Regions from separate parts of the Homo sapiens genome. Here regions 2, 3, 4 and 5 are each linked to region 1. The links are contacts of gene promoters, found by promoter capture Hi-C in human tissues and cell types (Jung and others, 2019). All regions are on one chromosome and are shown on one strand. The core of a region is centred on a gene start or on the middle of the fragment in contact, and the rest is flanking DNA. Distances in the headings are between cores, read along the strand shown.

The links. Contacts are between HindIII fragments. The study calls those that stand out against the background at their distance.
Region 2: a fragment that was not itself captured here is called in contact with the fragment with the promoter of CSTB in region 1 in 1 of the 25 tissues and cell types used here (dorsolateral prefrontal cortex).
Region 3: a fragment that was not itself captured here is called in contact with the fragment with the promoter of CSTB in region 1 in 3 of the 25 tissues and cell types used here (IMR-90 fibroblasts, dorsolateral prefrontal cortex and hippocampus).
Region 4: a contact is called between a fragment that was not itself captured here and the fragment with the promoter of CSTB in region 1, in 1 of the 25 tissues and cell types used here (dorsolateral prefrontal cortex).
Region 5: a contact is called between a fragment that was not itself captured here and the fragment with the promoter of CSTB in region 1, in 2 of the 25 tissues and cell types used here (IMR-90 fibroblasts and mesenchymal stem cells).

Annotation. Positions count from the first base shown.
Region 1 is chr21:43,774,832-43,777,557 of GRCh38, reverse strand. It overlaps CSTB (cystatin B), which reads left to right and starts at 1,250. Exons shown (of 3, transcript NM_000100.4): 1 at 1,250-1,354. The coding sequence starts at 1,289. RefSeq lists a silencer at 672-1,671. The HindIII fragment of the contact is 5,981 bases long and covers 1-2,726 here.
Region 2 is chr21:43,369,026-43,372,160 of GRCh38, reverse strand. No RefSeq gene overlaps it. Among named protein-coding and RNA genes, the nearest start is that of LINC01679, 8.2 kb to the right of the region's middle. RefSeq lists enhancers at 2,195-2,752, 2,965-3,024, 2,753-3,135. The HindIII fragment of the contact is 5,950 bases long and covers 1-3,135 here.
Region 3 is chr21:44,098,442-44,101,576 of GRCh38, reverse strand. TRAPPC10 (trafficking protein particle complex subunit 10) reads right to left here. Exons shown (of 23, transcript NM_003274.5): 21 at 3,043-3,135. Among named protein-coding and RNA genes, the nearest start is that of PWP2, 7.4 kb to the left of the region's middle. The HindIII fragment of the contact is 4,324 bases long and covers 1-3,135 here.
Region 4 is chr21:44,074,870-44,078,004 of GRCh38, reverse strand. It overlaps TRAPPC10 (trafficking protein particle complex subunit 10), which reads right to left. Exons shown (of 23, transcript NM_003274.5): 9 at 2,852-2,966; 10 at 1,377-1,453; 11 at 221-312. Among named protein-coding and RNA genes, the nearest start is that of PWP2, 31 kb to the left of the region's middle. The HindIII fragment of the contact is 7,831 bases long and covers 1-3,135 here.
Region 5 is chr21:44,058,392-44,061,526 of GRCh38, reverse strand. It overlaps TRAPPC10 (trafficking protein particle complex subunit 10), which reads right to left. Exons shown (of 23, transcript NM_003274.5): 6 at 2,313-2,424. Among named protein-coding and RNA genes, the nearest start is that of PWP2, 47 kb to the left of the region's middle. The HindIII fragment of the contact is 7,991 bases long and covers 1-3,135 here.

The sequences.
Region 1 (2,726 bases), core at 1-2,500:
TTCCAGCACTTTGGGAGCCCGAGGCAGGTGGATCACGAGGTCAGGAGTTCGAGACCAGCCTGGCCAATATGGTGAAACCCCGTCTCTACTAAAAACACAAAAATTAGCTGCGCATGAAGGCGCGCGCCTGTAGTCCCAGCTACTCGGGAGGCCGAGGCAGGAGAATGGTGTGAACCCCGGAGGCGGAGCTTGCAGTGAGCCGAGATTGCGCCACTGCACTCCAGCCTAGGCGACAGATCCAGACTCCGTCTCAAAAAAAAAAAAAAAAAGGCCGGGCGCAGTGGCTCACACCTGTAATCCCAGCACTTTGGGAGGCCAAGGCGGGTGGATCACAAGGTCAGGAGATCGAGACCATCCTGGCTAACACAGTGAAACCCCGTCTCTACTAAAAATACAAAAATTAGCCAGGTGTGGTGGCGGGCGCCTGTAGTCCCAGCTACTCGGGAGGCTGAGGCAGGAGAATGGCGTGAACCCGGGAGGCGGAGCCTGCAGTAAGCCGAGATCGCGCCACTGCACTCCAGCCTGGGAGACAGAGCGAGACTCCGTCTCAAAAAAAAAAAAAAAAAAAAAAAAAGAAAAGAAAAGGAAAGAAAGAAAAGAAATCCTAAAACGCAAATTCCACCAGAGAACCCTGCCTTCTTCTCATCCCTCTGATCTACCCCCTGCCCCCACCCAGCCTGGAGCGCGTGGGCGCCGTCTCCCCCTCCCTGGGCCCCTCTGTCCACCCCCTTCAGCCTTCAGTGTTCTCGGTCACAAGCGGTGATGTCCACTGCAGCCCGCACACCTGCTCCCGCGGGGCCGGGACCCCTGACCCCTGACCCCTGCAGCGCTGCGCCCCGCCCTCCCTCGTGCGCGGCCCGGACCCCGCCACCCTGCAGGATTGCGCCTACTCCGACTGCCCCTTCCCTATCGTCCCACCCTGCGCGCCCAACCCACCGGCGACACCCGGCCGCGCCCCCGCCCCGGTCCGTGTGACTCGGCGCCCGGAAAGACGATACCAGCCCCGGGAGGGGGGCGCTCCCTCCCGACACCAGCGCTGGGCGCGGAGACCCAGCCTGCGGCGAGTGGTGGCCAGGTTCCCCGCCCCGCGCCCCGCCCCGCGCCCCGCCCCGCGCGTCCCTTCTTGCGGGGCCACCGCGACCCCGCAGGGGACTCCGAAGCCAAAGTGCCTCCTCCCCGCCCCTTGGTTCCGCCCGCGCGTCACGTGACCCCAGCGCCTACTTGGGCTGAGGAGCCGCCGCGTCCCCTCGCCGAGTCCCCTCGCCAGATTCCCTCCGTCGCCGCCAAGATGATGTGCGGGGCGCCCTCCGCCACGCAGCCGGCCACCGCCGAGACCCAGCACATCGCCGACCAGGTGGGTGGGCCGCGGGGACGGGGCCGGCCCGGAGTCCTGCCTTAGCCTCAGGGCGCGGCCGCGGCTCCTGGAGCGAAAGAAGCCGCTTTGGCCCCGCTGCGCACCCCTGGGCTGGCCCGGGCTGTGGCCGTGAGAGGCCTCCCTCCGCTCGGGCGCTGCGCGCGAGTGAGCAGCGGGGGGCCGCGCCTGGGGCGCCGCTGGGGAGACATTGGGCTCCGCTGAATACAGCAAGGGCGAGTGGGAATTGATAGCCCGGAGCAGGGTGCGGTCCCTGCATGGACAGTCTCTGAGAGGAAACCCCAGGGATGAGGCGCTTCTGGTTTCAGGCAGGCAGGGTGATCGGGCGTCGCCGGCGATGGCGCAGGTGAGCAGCCGGCTCCGATCTCCACGGTGATCCGATAGCAAGCGGGTGGGAAGGGTCTGGCTAAACTGACTTAGCCAGGCTTCTTGCTAAAAGTGGATTTTACAAGGAAGTGCGCAGGTGGCCTAGGCGCTTCAGGAGCCCGACTACAGTTTGGCCAAGCAAGAATCTTTGTCAATATCCTCATCTAGTTCGGGAAAAAAATCATGAGAGAGAGTGCAAGAGGTCCCCAGTGATAAGGCACATGGGTTAAAAACTTAAGTGTATCTGCATAAAAGGTCCACAGGTTTCTTTACATGCTTCCGATTCTAGCACTGTTTCAAACTGTAAGTCTAAATAAAAAGTTAAAACACAGAAAAACAAGATAAAAACCGGGCTGGGTTGCAGATGGCAACCTTCCCTGTGTCTCGGTTTCCTCGTCTGTAAAATGGACGTCCTGTTGCTCTGCGCCTGCCAGAAGATTCTGGAGGGGCTGAAATGAGCAGGTCATCTGTGCAAGAAGCCCCCTCCGGTGGAGCACAGGCCAGGCCCGCCTCGCTGTCATGGTTGGTGACCGACGGGATGCCCCAAGCAAGAACAGGTCCAGGCGATGCTGAGGCCTGTGTTTTTTTTTTTTGTTTTTGAGACTCAGTCTCACTCTTGCCCAGGGTGGAGTGCAGTGGCACAATCTCGGCCCACTGCAACCTCCGCTTCCCAGGTTCAAGGGATTCTCCTGCCTTAGCCTCCCGAGTAGCTGGGATTGCAGGTGCTCGCCACCACGCCCAGCTAATTTTTGTATTTTTAGTAGAAACGGGGTTTTGCCATTTGGCTAGGCTGGTCTCAAACTCCTGACCTCAAGTGATCCGCCCACCTCAGCCTCCCAAAGTTCTGGGATTACATCCTTGAGCCACCGTACCCAGCTGGAACTGTTTTTTTCTACTTTATTATTAGGCTGACAGTTTAAATGTCCCTTCAGTTGTAAGAGACAATTGTGTGAAGAGCCAGTGTCAGAATCGTGTGTGTGCTCACATG
Region 2 (3,135 bases), core at 470-2,969, 410 kb after region 1:
CATCCCAAGCAGGGTGGGCCACAGCCTCCTTAGGAGATGAGGGTTGAATGCACATTCCCTTGTGTGTTCTGCGGCTGTCTGGGGACACCCACTGTGGTCCAGGCACCTCCAGAAGTGTTGGGGATCCCACGGTGAGCAAGCCACATGCAGGCGTGGCCCATGCAGCACTCACAGGCCAGCCGGGCGACGGCCACGTCAAGCAAAGATGCAAGCTGGCGCCCGGTTGTTGTGGGAGTGTTCAGAAGGACACCCCCAACCCCATCTCTATGCAAGCATCCCTGGTGCCAGTGTGCATCCATTCCTGGAGGGCTGGCCTGGGCTTCTGTCACCCACTCAAATCACCCCACAATGGAGTGTTTTCCTGGATCACCAATTCCTGGTTTGGAGGTGTAACCCAAAAAATATCAGAGACAGGTCTCAATCAATGTAGAGGCTTATTTTGCTATGGTTAAGGGCCATGGCCTGTGACACAGTCTCAAGAGGTCCTGAGAACATGTGTCCAAGGTGGTTGGGGTGCAGCTTTGCTTTCATACATTTTAGGGTACAGAAGTTGCAGGCAAAGATATCAATCAATACATGTAAGGTATACATTGGTGTGACCCAGAAAGTGAGAGGCTTCCAGGTTATAGGTGGATTCAAAGATTTCCTGATTGGCAATTGGTTGAAAGAGCTGAGCTTTGCCTAAAAAGTTTGAGGTCAGCAGAAAGAGATGCTTGAGTTAAGACAAGGGGATCGTGGAAGCCAAGGTTTTTGTTATGTAGATGAAGCCTCCAGATAGCAGGCTTCAGAGAGACTAGATGGCAAATGTCTCTTATGGGACCTTAAAATGTGTCAGACTCTCTGTAAAAGACCTATTAAGGGCAGGGAATTCTCTACAGAATGCAAATTTCCCCCTTAAGAGACAGCTTTGCAGGGCCATTTCAAAATATGTCAGAGAAATATATTTTGGGGTAAAGTACTTTTATTTTTTTCCAGGCCTGCTATCAGTCATGTGATGCTATACTAGAGTCAGGGTGGAATTTGGTGTCTTATTGCTACAAAGAGTCTTTTCTGCCAGTCTTATGATCTCTGTTTTCATGTTAATGCTGGTCAGCTGTGCCTAAACTCCAGAGAGGGAGGAGAGTATTATGAGGCATGTCCAACCCTACCTCTTCCCATCCTGGCCTGAACTCGTTTATCAGGTTCCTTTGGGATCCCCTTGGCCAAGAGTAGGGGAGCCATTCAGGCAGTTGGGGGGCTTAGAATTCTATTTTTGGTTTACAGGGAATACTGTACTAATCCCAAAGGTGATTTCTGGAAGGATAGCTTCTGTGTGCAAATGAATCTGGGGGTTCACAGCGCACATGTGCGTATTAAAGGCCTGAGGAGTCCTGCAGGGAAACACACACAACTCTGCTCACCTTCATGTAAACTGGCATTTCTCAAACTTACTTACCCATAGACTTGTTGTTTAACGTTGCGTTTATTGGCACCTACAGGGTAAGTGTGTGTGTAGTTGCACCCAGTACGCCCTTTCTGGAGAAGCAGAAACCCCCAGGTCACATGGCTGAGGCGTGGCTGCAGCGTGTATGAGGACAGATTGCCGCTGGGGCCCCAGGGGAGGGACCACTGAGTGGGGTTCTCGGATCTGACACACCGTCCCTGCAGATGGCCCCTCAGCGACATGGTGGCCTTCTCATCACTGCTCCGCCAACGGAGGGGAACGGCCTGATGAATCATGCATGATTCATTAATCTTAATTAAAATGCAAACGTATTGCCAACCTTCTCTGATAATTAAAGCCCATTGTGGGAATATGCTTAAAGCTTCTAGGCTGACGTTTCTTTTGCTGAAGCAAAACAGATGACTCTTTTAGCTCTGAAAAGTGGTGTTGAAAGTGGTGCTGCCGGGGGGCGTGCGGCGTGGACAGACAGGTGAGATCCACAGAGAAGAGGCTCCCTGCCTCTCAGTCTCCTCTCTCTTTCTCACGCACGTGCACACACGTGTGCCCTGGGCTCACTCTTCAGCCATACACTGAGCTGTATTTTCCTCAGTGCTACCAGACCCGCAGGCTCCCAATTTGGCAAGGAAGGAAAAACTAATTATGGCTTCATGTCCTGCAAGAAAGAGCCTGCAGCGGCTCTTCAGAAACCTGCCGGTGGGTCAGAAGCACGGCCAGGCCGCCTGCAAACGCCTTGCTGGAAAAATCTCTCTCTGAGCAACTGAGCCGGGTCCTGTGTGCTGGAGGGGACACTGAGAGGCCACAGGGTGGGGAGTGGGCGGGCAGTGAGGCTGGTGACCACCGGCACAGCACCAGGCTCCCACGCAAGGGGAATCCTGGGGCTTTGGAAAAAGTCAAGTCGCAGTTTCACGCACGATCCCCACGCAGCTGTGCCAAGCAGTGCCAAGGCTGTGCTGAGATCATCGGTGTCTGCCCTGTCAGAGGGGCTCGTGCTCTGAGAGATGGAGCGAAAAGTAAACTTTGCCCACCAAGAAAACCTGGTATCCCAACAGTTGTGGAGCTGCTGTGACACCGACTGCTGGCTGCCCTGTGAGGTCCAGTCCCCGCAGGTTTCATCCAAGACCCCCATTCCAGCTGACACAGAGCATTTTAAAATAAAACCCTGTCTTTTCCTGTGTCTTGGCCAGCGGGGCTGCATTCAAGAAAGTACAGCAGCCTTTCCTGACAGCCTCCTCCACGCCTCGACCCTGCAGCCCCTGCCTCTCCCCTGCGCTCCCCCTGCCCTCCCGCCCAGGTCTGTGTTTTCTGCCAGGGCGTCCGGTTCTTTCCTTCTGCTCTCAGCTCTCATCTGCCCCTCATCTTGCCTCACAGGGCTCCAGCTCTGGGCTGACAGTGACGGTAACAGGGACGTGTGCCGATGACTCATCCCGTCCCTCACATGCGTGTGTGTCTAGCCCTTGTCTCGCTGTGCTGCCTCCATCCACATCAAGTGGCACAAATGGAAACGGGTCACCACTGTCCTTGGGATGAGCCTGGTGTCATGGCTGAGTGGTTCTGTCACCAAGTCTTTTCGTGGTTTGCCATAGAGGTGTCTTTCCAGAATCATTTTTTTTTTTATGGACTTGATTGAAATGGGTCAGATTAGCCATGCTCCTGAAATTCTGCCATCAGCCCACACACATGCACACACACAT
Region 3 (3,135 bases), core at 446-2,945, 320 kb before region 1:
TTTGAAGTTTCCATGGGAAGCTCTGCTCTGGTCGGCCACGGACCTGGGTACTAGGGTTTTGGCACCCACTGAGTGGAACGCTTGCTCACCCTTCAGGCGTAATTGCATAAGCTGAACCAGTTCAGATGTCTGCGGTGTTGGCTGTCATTTCTGCTGTTGTCAGTTCCCTCCAATTAGGGCATGAACAAGGTGAATTTTTTCCTTGAAAATGGATGTGGATGGTCTGCTTGCTATGGCCTTAATCTTCAGCATCATCTCGTCCCTTCTTAAAACAAGATATCCATTTGCAAACTACTAATTCTTTGGGGCACTGTCCAAAGAATTTCATAAACTTTTCATAAAGCATCAATGATTTCACCATTCTTCCACCCAAGCTTCACCATAAATTTGATGTTGGTTGTTTTGTTGTTGTTGTTGTTGTTGAGGCGGAGTTTTGCTCGTTGCCCAGGCTGGAGTGCAGTGGCGCAATTTTGGCTCACTGCAACCTCCGCCTCCTGGGTTCAGGCAATTCTCCTGCCTCAGCCTCCCAAGTAGCTGGGCTTATAGGCGCCTGCCACCACGCCCAGCTAATTTTTGTATTCTTAGTAGAGATGGGGTTTCGCCATATTAGCCAGGCTGATCTTGAACTCCTGACCTCAGGTGATCCGCCTGCCTCAGCCCCCCAAAGTGCTGGGATTACAGGCGTGAGCCACTGCACCCGGCCAATGTTGGTTCTTGATTTAATTTTAGCAGAATTCATGTTGCTCTGATAGGGGCTCTTTTAAAACTGATGTCTTATCCTTCTTAGTGCCTCAAACTAGATCCTGCTCAGTGAGTAGGAGCTTATTTTGGTGCAAAAAGTGTTGAAATCCATGCATAGTTTTTTCATAACGTATCTTCCATGATTTTTTTGAAGACCCCTTGTATGTAAAGCACTTAGTACCACTCCTGGGACATGGTAGTGTCTTAATATATGGCAGGTGTTATTATTAACATTAATTATTAAAACACAACCATCATGTAATTCAATGCAATTCAAACACTTAAGTGATCATTCACTGGGACTAGCCCTGGAGATATGAAAGTAAGCAAGACAGGATCCTTGCCATCCAGTAGCAGTAGACCTGGTAAAGAGGTCACAGCTTCCCATCATGAGGATACCGAGCAACCGCCCAGGGGGAGTGAGTGACCAGAAGGCCACGAGCAGCAGAGAAGGGCTCAGGGAGGTGGACATCCTGTAGTTGGGGATGGGGGACCTTTGAGGACAGGAGCTACTACAGGACATGCAGAGGCCCTAGGAGTGTCAGGAGGAAGGCAAAGGAGTGACAGTTCTCAGAGTGTGGCTCTCAGGGCACCCGCAAGCTCATAGCTTTCACACTGCTGCCTTTCTACGCTGCTGACCTCGCGCTGCTGGGGCAACCACAATGGCATGAACTCGGGCCAGACTGCGCAGTCATGTCACTCATGTTCTTTACTACCATGAACTCACAGCAAAAAAACAAAAAAAAAAATGCCACGCTTCACAAAGCAGTCAAAAGTGCTCATTTTATTAAATTCAGCTCCTGAGTAGACTTTTTTTTAATTGTGAAATGTTTATAGACTCACAAGAAGTTGTAAAAGTAGTAGAGGGGTCACATACCTTCATCACCAGCTTCACCCAACTGTGCCATCTCGTGTAACACAGGAAGCTGACACTGGTACCATACAGTGACCCAGGCTGCAGACCCCACTGGATTTCACTACAGAGTGAACCAGGCTGCAGACCCCACTGGATTTCAATACAGATAGAACCAGGCTGCAGACCCCACTGGATTTCACTACAGAGTGGACCAGGCTGCAGACCCCACTGGATTTCAATACAGCTAGAACCAGGCTGCAGACCCCACTGGATTTCACTACAGAGTGGACCAGGCTGCAGACCCCACTGGATTTCAATACAGATAGAACCAGGCTGCAGACCACACTGGATTTCACTACAGAGTGGACCAGGCTGCAGACCCCACTGGATTTCAATACAGATAGAACCAGGCTGCAGACCCCACTGGATTTCACTACAGAGTGAACCAGGCTGCAGACCCCACTGGATTTCAGCAGCTTTCGCAGGCATTCTTTGGGTCTAATTCTATGGCATTTGTCACATGTGTAGATTCGTGTAACAACCACAGCGGCCCTGGCCCAGAACTCTCCATTACCACAGAGGACGGCCTCCTGCTGCCTCCCACTGCTCCGTGGAACACTGACCCGCTCTCCTTCTGAGGCTGGCATTTTGAGGATGTCATTTAGAAATGGAATCACACAGTACACCTCCTTATAGGACTGGCGTTTTTCTCTTAGTATAATGCCCTTGAGATCCAACCACAGCACTGCGTGTGTCAACAGTCCCTTCTGTTTCACTGCTGAGGAGGAATCAGATGTGCCAGTTTAACCGCTCTCGAGCTGAAGGACGTTTGAGTTATTTCCATTCTTGAGTGCTTGTGTTCTTGACATTCTCTGGGTCTCTGCTGCAGAATGACAGCTGGCTCAGGGAAAGCACACGGGGAGCGCTCGGTGCTGCGAGCTGAAATAGCCGCTGTTTTCACAGAACGCCCTTTTCACTTGCAAGAGCGCTGGGGAAGCTAGTTATTCAGTGTTGGGTATTTGGTAGACGTCTGATTAAAAATGAATGATGTAAGCCTGTCACTTCAAAGAAAACAACACGACTATTTGCTGCCAATGATGCCATCTGAGACTTTAAGCAAAAATCAGAATTTTGGAAAACTTACACTTGCCACTGTGAGCTTGAAAGAGTTCTGATGCTCCAAGCCCTCCCTGAGAGATCACAAATGCAGATTTTAAAAAAATATTGTCAAACGAAAGGTGCCCACATTTGGAAGATCTGCACAACTCAGGAAACCATGTTTCCCACATGACTAATGGCACAGGGTGTAACGCTATGATGCCTGGGTAAAAGAGCCATTCAAAATGCAAGATAGGCTGAGTGCAGTGCCTCACACCTGTAATCCCAACACTCTGGGAGGCCAAGGCGGGAGGACTGCTTGAGCCCATGGGTTCGAGACCACCTACCTTCATACATAAGCTTTGTCGAAAAATGCTCATCAGATTCAGTCAGTGCTTCATCTTTATCCACCTCCAAGAGGTCTGAGAGCCTCGTGATCA
Region 4 (3,135 bases), core at 383-2,882, 300 kb before region 1:
GAACCTCAAAGACCAATAACAGTTATTAAGAGTAACAAGCAGAAAATCTCTCCATCTGGTTTTCAGAAGAAACTGAAAAAAAAATTATGAGGACTGGGTAAGAGAATCTACACTTTTCAGTCTACAAATTTATGTGCACTTTATACTAACTCCATATATAACAAATCTTCTCGTGTTATTTGTATGTTTAGAATTCAAAGAAAAGTACAAAATCAATTACATGTAAAACTCTGCCAGATCTTTTCCAACAAACTTAGCAGATCGAATCCTCCCAATGCTTGTATACATTTCAATGGTGGCATGGGACAAATCCTGTGGGGAAGTAAAAACACAATTATGTACTTGAACTTTTAATGATGGACAAATACTACATTTATTCACCTAAAGCTCACACAAAAGACATTGTTGGGTTTTTGTTTTGAGACAGAGTCTTGCTCCATCGCCCAGGCTGGAGCACAGCGGTGAGATCTCAGCTCACTGCAACCTCCGCCTCATAGGTTGAAGTGATTCTTGTGCCTCAGCTTCCCAAGTAGCTGGGACTACAGGCGCCACCAGGCCCGGCTAATTTTTTGTATCTTTAGCAGAGACAGGATTTCACCATGTTGGCTAGGCTGGTCTCAAACTCCTGACCTCAAGTGATCCACCTGCCTCAGCCTCCCAAAGTGCTGAATTACAGGCGTGAGCCACCATGCCCAGCCCGCAGAAGACATTGCTAATAATGTAACATTATTTTTTCCTTTGCATCTATTTTTGTGAATTTTTCTGTAATATATAAGCAAAATTGGTAACCTGTGTATAAATTATGAAGCATAATAATAAAAGAAACCCACAAACTCATCCAAAACATCTAACTTTTCCAAGGACTTTCTGCACGTGGGTGACATGCTGGGTATTTTTCATACTTGTGTGTATAAGAGGTACAGCCATTACGGGCAGACCAAACGCTCAAGTTGCCCATGACCCGGGAATGACGCTGACCCACCACACTTCTGCCTACGCCGTTTTTTAAAGTTTTGCTAATTTAAGTCTTTCAAAATCAAATACAATAGCTCTGCCCAAGTCCAAATTACTCCTTTTTACAAAGAAAAGTATTCACTAGCCTCTCTTATAATTTCTGTGTGAGCAAACCCAATTTGAACAAAACGGTAAATATTCAAAGATGATTCCATGCCTAGCATGGTACCATGGGCACTAATACACATTTGATGAACTACTCCATGTTTTGTCCACAACTCCCCAGGTACCAAAGAAACTAAAAAAAACCAACAAGAAGGGGCCCCCCACACCAGTTCCTTCCCAACTCAACAGGCCATGTAGCAAAGCCTTCTAGAGACAGGTATTCACAGAACAGACATTGAACACTTGTTAATACTTACTAAGTAGTGTTTTTCAAAAGCTTCCACTGACGATAATGCTTCTTTCAGTTTCTTATAAGGACTCTGAGCTGTGTTGGCTTAAACAGAAAGAAACGAGAGTCCCTCTTCATCTTCATCATGTCCAGTCACATGACTTTACATTCACCTTCACATACTGCAGGTAGATGACCTCATCTGACTCTTGTGAAATTACAAACCGGCCAATGCCAACGGAAACTACATGATTATGTACATTCTCTTTCAATTCACATATTCATAAAATAGTCAAAACGCTTTGTGTCATGCTTTTTCTCTGATCTTTAGAACTAAACTTTTTTAGAAACATATATTACAAATACTCCGATGAATTAAATTACTTCCGAAGTGATCTGAAATGGTCTCAAGTTGAAACAATGAAATATAAATACTACGTATTTTTTCCCTTAAACATTTATTCAATTTACTAAGAATGTTTTCAGCTCATCAGATATTCTTTAGCAACAGTCTTGCTAAATAATACTCATCATATATTCCTACGTAAAACAATGAGTAATCCTCCTTTCAAAGAGCCTTATTATCCAGGAGAATTTTTTTTTTTTTTTGACAGAGTTTTGCTCTTGTTGCCCAGGCTGGAGTGCAATGGAGCAATCTTTGTTCACCACAACCTCCACCTCCCAGGTTCAAGCGATTCTCCTGCCTCAGCCTCCCGAATAGCTGGGATTACAGGCATGCACCACCACACCCGGCTAATTTTGTATTTTTAGTAGAGATGGGGTTTCTCCATGTTGGTCAGGCTGGTCTCGAATTCCTGACCTCAGGTGATCCGCCCACCTCGGCCTCCCAAAGTGCTGGGATTACAGGTGGGAGCCACCGTGCCCAGCCAATTTATTTTAAAAAATTTGCTGGGAGGCCAGGGCAGGAGGATCACTTTAGGCCAGGAGTTTGAGACCAGCCTGGGCAATACAGCGAGACTCCATCTCTACAAAAAATTAAAAAATTAGCCAAGTATGGTAGCACACACCTGTAGTCCCAGCTACCTGGGAGGGTGAGGCAAGAGGATCCCTTGAGCCCAGGAGGTCGAGGCTGCAGTGAGCCAAGATTGTGCCACTACACTCCAGTCTGGGCAACAGAGTGAGACCCTGTCTCTTAAAAAAAAAAAAAATCGTCAGGTCGTATTGTTAGAAAAACAGATCATCTGTAATTCAGAGAGACAGTGGTGCATTTGAACATGAGCTATAAAGTCCCTTAAGCCCAGGAGAAACTCAGCTACATTTCTGAAACTCCTTCCAATTTCTTCAACTATTTCTAATATTGCATTATGCTGTTAAAAGGTAAACTATCATGTGCTTTAATCCAGTCAGCTAACAATGGGTATAATTTTCCAAATGGTGAGTAATATGATTACTCTTAGAACTTCGGTTAAATGTGCCAACTTGCAAAGGACATTTTCATTACTGTCCACCTCACCACTCACACAGGTATATACAAAAAAGTACCTGTTTCTGGTCGCTCAGCTCCCAAACCTGCCAAAAGGTCAACTGTCCTGTTGAGATCTTCTGAGTTAGGTCCTTTCTCTGACACAAGTCCACATAGATAGCCCAAGGACTTTAACTGTTAAGATAAATCCACAATTTCAATTAATTTGCCGTAAGAGTCAGCAGGGAATTCAAGAATTTAAATATAAAAATTCAAATCCAGCTAAATTCTAGAAGAAATTTAGCTTTCCTACCCAATGACTCAAATCTGGATACAAAAATACATCCTACACAACAGCTCCCAG
Region 5 (3,135 bases), core at 199-2,698, 280 kb before region 1:
GGGAGGCTGAGGCGGGCGAATCACGAGGTTAAGAGATCGAGACCAGCCTGGCCAACAAGGTGAAACCCCAACTCTACTAAAAATAAAAAAATTGGCCAGGCGCAGTGGCTCACGCCTGTAATCCCAGCACTTTGGGAGGCTGAGGTGGGCAGATCACGAGGAGATCGAGACCATCCTGGCTAACACGGTGAAACCCCGTCTCTACTAAAAATACAAAAAAAAATTAGCCGGGCTTGGTGGCGGGCACCTGTAGTCGCAGCTACTCAGGAGGCTGAGGCAGGAGAATGGCGTGAACCCGGGAGGCGGAGGTTGCAGTGAGCCGAGATGGCGCCACTGCACTCCAGCCTGGGCTACAGAGCAAGACTCCGTCTCAAAAAATAAAATAAAATTAAATTAAATTAAAATTAAAATAAATAAATAAATTAGCTGGGCGTGGTGGTGCGCACCTGTAGTCCCAGCTATTTGGGAGGCTGAGGCAAGAGAATCGCTTGAAATCAGGAGGAGAAGGTTGCAGTGAGCCAAGATCACACCACTGCACTCCAGCCTGGCAACAAAGCAAGACTCCGTCTCAAAAAAAAAGTGTGTGTGTGTGTGTGTGTGTGTGTGTGTGTATGTATGTATGTATAGGCTGGGCATGGTGGCTCACAACTATAATCCCAGCACTTTGGGAAGCCGAGGCAAGAGGATCACTTGGGGCCAGGAGTTCGAGACCAGCCTGGCCAACATGGTGAAACCCCGTTTCTACTAAAAATATAGAAATTAGCCAGGTATGGTGGCATGCACCTGTAATCCCAGCTACTCAGGAGGCTTAGGCACGAAAATCGCTTGAACCCTGGAGGCAGAGGTTGCAGTGGGCCAAGATCACACCACTGCCCTCCAGCCTGGGGGACAGAGTGAGACACTGTCTCAAAAATAAATAAATAGATATGTTTGTATAATATGGACACATAAGGCCGGGCATGGTGGCTCACACCTGCAATCCCAGCACTTTGGGAGGCTGAGGCGGATCACGAGGTCAGGAGATCGAGACCATCCTGGCTAACATGGTGAAAACCCGTCTCTACTAAAAATACAAAACATTAGCCAGGCGTGGTGGCAGGCGCCTGTAGTCCCAGTCCCACTGCTGAGGCAGGAGAATGGCATGAATGGCATGAACCCGGGAGGCAAAGCTTGCAGTGAGCCGAGATTGTGCCACTGCACTCCAGCCTGGGCAACAGTGCAAGACTCCATTTCAAAAAAAAAAAAAAAAAAGACACATAAAATATAAGAAATAGAAGTGTTTTTTTATTTTATTTTTTTACTTAGTAAACACTTTGCTTTGGTTCTGTGTCTATACTGGCATCTCAGGAGAGTGAGATATCCAGACCTGATCTTCAGAAGCACTATGAGCCAGTATCCATCGGCGCCACTGATGAGTTCCAGAGTGAGGACAGTGCTCACAGCTAGAACTGACCGTCCCCACACTTCATCTCCCTCCAGGTTCTCCTGCTGACACCAGGGCTCCTCAAAATTACTCCTTCCTTCACACATGGTGACAAGGGTTCTCAAAAAGAACACCTGGCAGAGATGCCCACTACAGCACTGCTTGTGGTGGCAAGAAGCATAAAAGAACCCAATGTCCAACACCAGGTAATGGAATCAAGCCAGGAATACCAATTGTAACAAAAACAACTCCAAACCCCACCTGCTAACCTGGAGAGATGCCCAGGATGGGCTGTGAGTAACAAAAAGGAGCGACAGAGAAACAGCTATATAACGTGGTATCACTTTCATCAAAATAAGTATCAGCGAAAAACACTGAGGACAATAACCAATGTTTCTCTCTGTGTATGGTTTCACTGTGCTAATTCTTTAATTGTAAAGGAGCTTAAGATATTATTTAAAAGTGCAAAAGAAAGATGAACACCCAAGGGCATTTTATAAGTTCACAGCAATGAGCACTCGAGCATTCCAAAGATAACCCCTGGATGGAAGGCAAAGGGACGTCCACTCTGATTCTAACGAGGGACAGAATCGAAGCATCACCAGCAGGCCACTGAGTTGTGGAAAGGACATTTTATACCTGGAAAACAGTTTTTTTAAATTATTATTATTTTTGTTACTTAAGATTCTTCTAAAAGTGAAAATGACTAATTCTTAATTCTCATTTCATTTCCTCTAGGAATCACGAGAATATATCCGATATAATGTGTATAAAGACAACAACAAAACATGCGTACTCCTGAGGTAAATAAATGGCTGCTTCAAGCCTATCTGAAGTTGGAGAAAGCCACACTAAGAAAAGCATGCGTTACTGAAGTGCCACTACTCACCCCCGGCCCCGAAGTTGACCACATACTGAGAGAAGAGGGCGTCCAGTTCGTCGTACTGCACCAGGGCGTCCTCGAACTGCTGCAGCATCTCGAAAACAAAGGCAAGCTCCTCCTATTCGCCCAAGATACGTTTTTTAAAAAAACAAAAACATAAATCAATGTATAGAAGAAACAGTATGTAGCCATTAAACGACAGAGAAAGGCACGCAGCACTATGAATAATGTCTACGCTCCGCTAAGTAACAACCAATGTGACGACCGCATATGTCAACATTCACGCATGCACAAGAAGCTAGGAAAAGCTAAGGTAATTTCTGAACCCTCCCCGACCTATCGGCAGCACCAGATATAACTGGTCACCCCCCTGTCCTTGGGATGTTTCCTGCTGTCCAGGACCTGGCCACCTGCTCCCCTCGCCCCTCACTGTGGCTCCCTCTGGTCAGACGGCTGGTTCCTCTCGCTCCCCGAGGCTCTCTGCTGGAGGCCGCAGGGCTCCGCCCTTGGACTTCCCTGTCTACACTCACTATTCCCTCTCCATGACGGAGCCCATCTACACAGCATGACCACCACACATTCAGGACTCCAGCTCAGACCTGACTCTGGCTCCAATGGCAGGCACAGCACGCTTGTGTGGATGCCTAACAGACAGCTCAGGCTTACACATGGAAACCTGAACCCCAACCTTTCCCACAAAGTGCTCCACCCACGGTCTTCCCCATTTCAGTCAGCGACTGCTCATCACATTCAAGAGACTCCTAAATCCTTTCGAGACATCCCCAGGCCCTGCAAAATCTATGTCCCCCACCCCCACCCCTTCCCAGCA